Linked DNA regions of Homo sapiens: region 1 is linked to region 2. Evidence: promoter capture Hi-C in 16 types of primary human blood cells and fetal thymus (Javierre and others, 2016). All regions are on one chromosome and are shown on one strand. The core of a region is centred on a gene start or on the middle of the fragment in contact, and the rest is flanking DNA. Distances in the headings are between cores, read along the strand shown.

Region 1 (3,347 bases), core at 404-2,903, 240 kb after region 2:
CGCTTGTCAGAATTGTCTATTAATAGGGGCAATGTGTTAGAACCTCCAAGTATTCAATTATTTCTGGATACGTGAGATCTTACTGTATGTAAATCTCAACATTTAGGTACTTAAGTATTACCTTGCAAACTGTACGTGATTTGCTTCTCAGGACAGACAGACTGGATTTTAAATGAGGCCAGAAAAACACAATATTTTCAAATCCTTTTAAGACTTGTGGTGATGTGTGCAAATTACAGGCATTCTGGAGATATGTGTACAGAGAATGTGGTCTCAATGAACGCAGTGTACATGCTATAGTCTGCTAGGACATTAGTTTGCTGGGGCTGCCCTAACAAAATACTACAGACTGAGTGGCTTAAACAACACATTTATTTCTCACATTTTTAGAGGCTGGTTAAGGTGTTGGCAGGGTTGGTTTCTCCTGAGGCCTCAAATGGCTTTTCCTCTGTGAGCTGACGCTTCTTATAAGGACACTAGTCAGATTGGATTACAGCCCACCGAAAAGGCCCTTTTAACTTAATCACCGGTTTAAAATCCCAGTCTCTAAATATCACAACTTTCTGAGATACTGAGGGTTGGGACTTTGACATATGAATTTTAAGGGGACACCATCCAGCCCCTAACATCTATTTCCCTGAAGGTGGGGCATATTTTCCTATTAAAGTTAACCTGAAACATGTGAGAATTTCTTTGTACATACTTTCCGCCTTTCCAATAAGTTATGTTCCAAACATTCATTCCCATTTCGGCTTTTCAGGTGCAGACCTCACAGAGAGATGACAGAGAAGGGTTGTGGTCCCCAGTGAGACAACGCCTGCCTATCTAACCTGCACAGCCTTGAGCTCCAGCACCCACCCGTGCACAGCCTTGAGCTCCAGCACCCACCCGTGGTGCAAGTTTCAGTATCTGATCCCAGTGGTTCACCTACTGCCCTGACCTCTGCCCTGAGGTGTGGCATCTCCTCCCTTCCCAGTTCTCTGACAGGGAAGTGGGGAATTTCCCCAAGTCTGAGTGGCCTCCATATTCAAAGCAGAGACATCCCCCTCTCAGCTGTGGACCTAGGGATGGTGATCTCAGCTGTGGCAGCAGAAAGCAGCTGTGATAGCCCAGGGGAGGCCAGGCCCTATTCTGCCCCCTATTTGTATAAACAGAGCATTCAAGGCTCATGACTTCAGCGGGGCTCTCTGTTGTCTTAATCTCATTCTTGGGGCACATTCTCCTGTAGGACACAGAAGGAGGTGGCATTTTACATTTACCATTAGATGATTTGAGTCATTGCAGCCTCACAGCACAGCTGCCCTGATGCATTCTACATTCTGCTGGCTGCTGTGTGGAGAACCTGACATGTTCATGGTCTTTGTGCTCAGGGATTTCACGGAATAAAGAGGCTGCAGCATTCGGATGAAGGCCACCCTCGCTCTGGCATGTTTGCAGAGCTTGGGGTGGTCTGCATTCTACATTCCGCTGGCTGCTCTGAGAATCTGATGCACTCAGTCTTTGTGATCTCACAGAATAAAGAGGCTGCAGCATTCGGACGAAGGCCCCTCGCTCTGGTGTGTTTGCAGAGCTCAGGGTGGTTTGCTGTGACCTGATTTCATGCTTATGACTCAGTATGCACAGCTGCAATCTTCTTCCTTGTGTTGCATTTGCCAATAGCATGATATTCCTGATGCCTTATTTAGGTAAATCCATATAAGAGCTAAGGCAGGAACGATTTATTTTCTACTTCTTGGCTGATTCCTCTCTTCATTGAGAGTCCAGGTGGACAGTCAGGAATGATGGGCAGAGTGCTGTTCTCCTCACCTCGAGGCTGTCCTCAGCACAAGGGAGCTGTTGTACCTCCTTCCAGCCCATTTCCATTCTAGACAACAAGAAGCAGGATGCGGGAAGCAGGTGGCCTTAAAGACACAACTGGAAAGCTGTGGAAATCATTTCTGCTCCCAAGGTGGGAGCCTTCACTTAGTCACATGGTTACAGCCAGGTGAAAGAAAGTCTGGGATGCTCTTCAGCGGGTGGCCGTGTGTCCATGTGCACGCAGTAATCACAAACACACCATGTAAGAAGGGGGAGAGATACTGAGAAAACCACTTTCATGGAGGGGAGGCAGCCGGACTCCTCTCTTTAACCAGAGGGGAGGGTCTGCATCTCCCCAGCTGTAGGTAAGCGGTAGCCGAGGCAGCCCACTAGGCCAAGGCCACTCAGGAGATATGGCTGGCCCTGTGCAGCAAGTCTAGGGTCACCTGGGATGCGCCCTGTACACAGGGGCCTCTTCTCCTGTAGCCCACTAATAATTACCACAGTGCCCACAGCCGGTCCATCTAAATGTTCAGAATACTGTATTTAGAATTAGTGTTAACATTTGAATAAGGTTTCATTTTTCTGCCTAACATTGAAAGATGAACTGGATTCTTGGATGTCACATAACATTTTGGGGTCCCCTTTCTGAACCTAGAATGTAAATAGATGAGCTAGCACTTCTCTTCACGCCAGTGGGGAGCAAATGCGATTCCTAAAGTCCTGGCTTCACCAGGAGCCGAGCTCCTGAGCCTTCCAGGGGTGCCTCTGCCCTGGACAGGGCGCTGCTGCCCTCTGGTGCGCGAGCCGCCTCCCAGCGCCTGCACCTGCTCCTGGAGACGCTCACCTTCCCGGCTGTTGCCCTAATTCTGCAACGTGTCAAAGGACAAATGTCACATGTATGTCTTAGCGGGGAAACTCTACAGTTTATTTTGGATAATAAGTATGTGAAATTAATACAATCTTATACTATCTTCTTGCACCCGTGGCGTAAAATCTTCAGAAAAATATCACTGCACTATTGCTGCTGTTCATTTTTCTCCTTGTTGCTTTTAACATTCACAATAGTAGATTGGCTCTTTCCTTTTTATTTTATTTTATTTTTTTGCTATGTGAACATATACATAGCAGAATAAATATATGTATAAATCAGGAAATACAGCATCTATATATTTTTATGGCAGATAATGTAGAATGACTTTTAGGATATTAAGTTAATAAAAAGAAGATATGTAAAATGATGTAATCTCTACTCACCAAGAATTCATTATGCAAGTCCAAAATTAAGGAGAAAGGTAAATAAACATTCCAGGCAACCTCCCTTTTCCACCTTTGTGAATCACGGCACATCTGATTGTGCACTAGGATGGCAGAGGAGTGTGTGTGACCCTGGGCGAGCTGGCTTTCATGGTGGTCCTTGCTGCCTTTGGGCCCCCAGGTGTCCAGGTGGGGCAGGAGAGGTGGTGCTGCCTGGAGGCAGCCTCTCCTTAGGAAAAGCCTTCTCAGGACCCCTGTCCCTCTAGTCCTCTGCAGACCTGACTTGACACCAT
Region 2 (3,483 bases), core at 17-2,516:
CCAGGGGAACACACACAGGGGAGAACGCTGGGCGATCACACAGGGTGGAGAACGCCGGGTAAATACACACTGGGGAAAACGCTGTGCAATCGCATAGAGGGAAGAACGCCGGGTGAACACACAGGGTGCGTTCTTCCATCATGCGGCTGCGCCTGAGTCTCTGAGTCTACTCTGGCTTAGAAGGCTGCCTGATTCGCAAATTGTTTATTGCTCAATTACATGCTTTTAAATTTAATTCAGCTGAAGTGTTTCTTTTCTCACGGCCCACCCACTAGATGTGGCTCTGTCACTGGTGCTGGCCAGTGGGGCGTGGAGGGACCGGTGTCCTTCCCAGCACAGACACAAGGAAGCGGCTGTGCCTTCTCCACACTCTTCTCCCTGACTCTTGGCTACAGCTGTAAACCCAGGGTTAGATTCAGGGGCCTGTGACCTCCAATGGGAAAACAACTGCATTATTTGTACCTCATATTTAGTATTTCCATCAATTATGAGTGTAGGCAAAAAAGCACAGTAGCTTCAGCAGGACTGGTGTTTTGCTGGCAGTACAAAACATTTTCATATCCTATTCCTTGCTGTCTTGTGTTTTCTTTAATGTGTTAAAAAATCTTATTCTGAGACCATCAGGCCACTGGAAGGGGTTCATGGCACAAAAAAAGATGCAGCCCAGCAATAAGGTGAAAGAGAGATGACGGAGCCACTGGACACAAGAAGCCTTGCACCCTGAGTCACCCCGTGGAGCACTGACGAGCCTCGGCTCCTGATTCATTATGCGGAGTGCTGCCTAGTACCAGGAGCAACAGCACTGGACAGGGACATGAGTAAGAAATAAAACTTCCAGAGCGTGAAGCTAGTGAAATGATGGGATGTGTTTATCACAGGGCTAGCATCATCCTAACCAGCATGGAGACATGCGGGGCTGTGAACGGGAGCCTAGAGCTGCAAATTAGACAAGCCTGGGCCAGGAGACCTTTTGCAGGCTGCAAAGCTGCTCTCTCCTTTGCCTCCTCTGTACCTCAAAGGACCTGGGGTGGTGAAGGGAGTTGTGGGCCGACCTGAGTCAGCCTGAACAGGCTGTTCCTTCAGCAGATTCCTCAAGCTCTGCCCCGGCCCCTTCCTCGGCCCACCCCAGCTTGCCCTCCAAGGGGTATTATCACTGTGACCCTCGTCTCCTCCTCCTGTTCAGGCTTTGCCTTGGCAGCGCAGCAGTGCCCCTCTGCAAAGGGGTCTCGCATGCTGTTCAGCAGCTCTCTTCCCGCCACAGCGATGGGCAGCCGGATCCCAGCTGGAACTCCGCCACATCCCAGGAATGTGAATACCAGTGGAATCCGGATAGGACGGTGTGACCCAGGCACAGTGGGTGAGAACCGGAGCTTGGCTAGCAGGCAGGGGTTCAGCTGCTTCCTGACCTGTGCCCTGGCACCTCTGACCTGGCCGGAGCTTCTCAGGCAGTGACCACTGCTGAAACTTTGAGACCCCAACATGTGTGGGAGCATTTCTAAGCCTTCCTTGCATGGACACACTCCTCCCTAACGCTGTCCCATTTTCCAGACAGGGTCTCACCCACCCCGCACTGCTGCCCCCAGTGCTTTGATTCAGCCCCTCAGCTGTGAATGGAGTTGGTTCCTCATATGAGATCTCAATAAGACTATGGTGGGAGTCGGCGTAGAGCAGGGAAAGCCTGGACTTTCTGCCAGAAGGTCGGGGTGGGGCAGTGCAGGCCACGGCACCTCCCGGCTCTGTGCACAGGGTGGGCCACCCCAACCCGGCTCCTCACACTTCACGGCATGCAGCAGCCTCCTGGGCCCTGGGAACATGCAGACTCTGAGCAGCAAGACTGCGCAGGACCCGACATTTGCATTTCTAAACAGCTCCCAGGGGACGCCAATGCTGCGGGCTGAGGCCCACGCTGGAGGAACACCGGCCAGTGGGCAGCTTTGGGTGAACTTCAGAGTGGGTGGAAGCGCAGCTGCCCCGCCTGCCCCCACGGCTGCTGCGCGATCAGGAAACACAGCACACTCCTAAGTGAGTCGTCACCATGGTGACTTTTGGATTCCCACTGCCAGTTCCTGTGGAGTCAGAGAGATCTTAGCTCAGAAGTGCTGACAGCAGGGGCTGGCTGGCCACTGGCCACATGGGAAGAGGAGAAAGGCAGCAGGAGCCACCGTGAGGCAAATGAGCTACAAGACGCCGCTCCGTCTGATTTCCCGCCACAGCTCCCAACACAGGTGAAATGGCTCAGAACAGCTCAGCATGTCCTACTGAGGGGCAGGAAGGATGCTGAGAAAATCCCAGGCAGCGGTCTCAGCTGGGATGTAATTTGAGGGCGAAAAAGTTGTGTTGCTTGCGGTTTCTTCCTTGCTCCTTGCAGGTTATATTTGAAATGAATGTCAGAGCCATGCGGCCGCTGCCAACTAATTCCCAGCTAAGAAGGTAAACACCAGCATCACCTGGGTCTTCTGGTCTACCTGATTCTGCAGCTCAGAGGGAACCATGCAGCTGGCAAAAATGACAGCGAGGGCAGGACTATGACCCAATTAAAGGAATGTGAGTTAAAACATGGGGAGCCAAACACCCAAATTCCAGCCTGATCCTAACTGTATGTAGGCATTAAACCCTTATGCTGTCATTCCCACCACCGAGTAGAAAGTGTGGCACGTGGCTTTGTATCACTGTAAATATGATTCTATTTTACTGGCCTTCAGCCTCCCTCCTTTTGCTCACAGCCTTTACTGCAGCCAGCAGAGAGGGGCACTGCCTCCAGCACAGCCCAAGCGAGCTGGCTTTCCATGGAGGCTCGAAAGGGCTCCCTGTCTCCTGCACACTCACATGGCTTCTGCTGCTGGACACGCACATAAAAGCATGTTTGTGAAGCCTTGCATGGAATCCACAGCAGAGGTGCAAGGAGATCCAGGGGTCTTGACCTCCTGAGATTCTTTGGGGCGGCAGGGGTCGGGCGTTGTATAGCGATATTTACGTTTTTTCCATTCTGGAAACCACAGAGACAGTGGGAGGGGGAGATTCTCTGGTCAAGAAATGAAATAGAATGGAGAAGCAGAGAGAAGAGGAATGAGGAAGCTGGGTGGTACCAGGTCTCCCTGAAGAGGGATAGGGGGGCTGGGTGGTACCAGGTCTCCCTGAAGAGGGATGGGGGGCTGCGTGGTGCCGGGTCTCCCTGTGCTCACAGCACCGTGTGTATCCCCTTCGAGTGCCATGGGAGGTGTGTGACTTCTCTGAAAGGCAGGAAGCGGCAGGGACCACATTTCTCCTGTCACCCGGGTATTCCCAACCCCTGGCTCACTGCTTCTCCCCCAGAGCAGGAACTCTGCAGACAGTTGCTGAATAAACAAGTGAACCAATGAATGAAATAAAGGTGAGACCCAATGGGAAATGCAAGAGTTGCCAGGAACAGCAGGAGGACCACACTCCTGGGAGATCTCCCACGCCATGAATTATACCACCACACACCCACACGCATGCTGCCCG

The links. Contacts are between HindIII fragments. The CHiCAGO score rates a contact against its expected background, and 5 or more counts as called.
Region 1: a contact is called between a fragment that was not itself captured here and the fragment with the promoter of RPS6KA2-AS1 in region 2, in 1 of 17 cell types (non-activated CD4 T cells). The highest score is 5.1, in non-activated CD4 T cells.

What each region holds. Positions count from the first base shown.
Region 1 is chr6:167,139,768-167,143,114 of GRCh38, forward strand. It overlaps LOC112267970 (a long non-coding RNA gene), which reads right to left and starts at 1,584. Exons shown (of 2, transcript XR_002956379.2): 1 at 1,260-1,584; 2 at 1-768. RefSeq lists an enhancer at 2,961-3,347. The HindIII fragment of the contact is 4,784 bases long and covers 1-3,347 here.
Region 2 is chr6:166,902,432-166,905,914 of GRCh38, forward strand. It overlaps RPS6KA2-AS1 (RPS6KA2 antisense RNA 1), which reads left to right and starts at 1,267. Exons shown (of 2, transcript NR_046644.1): 1 at 1,267-1,357; 2 at 1,869-2,638. RefSeq lists enhancers at 1,022-1,703, 1,704-2,384. The HindIII fragment of the contact is 22,454 bases long and covers 1-3,483 here.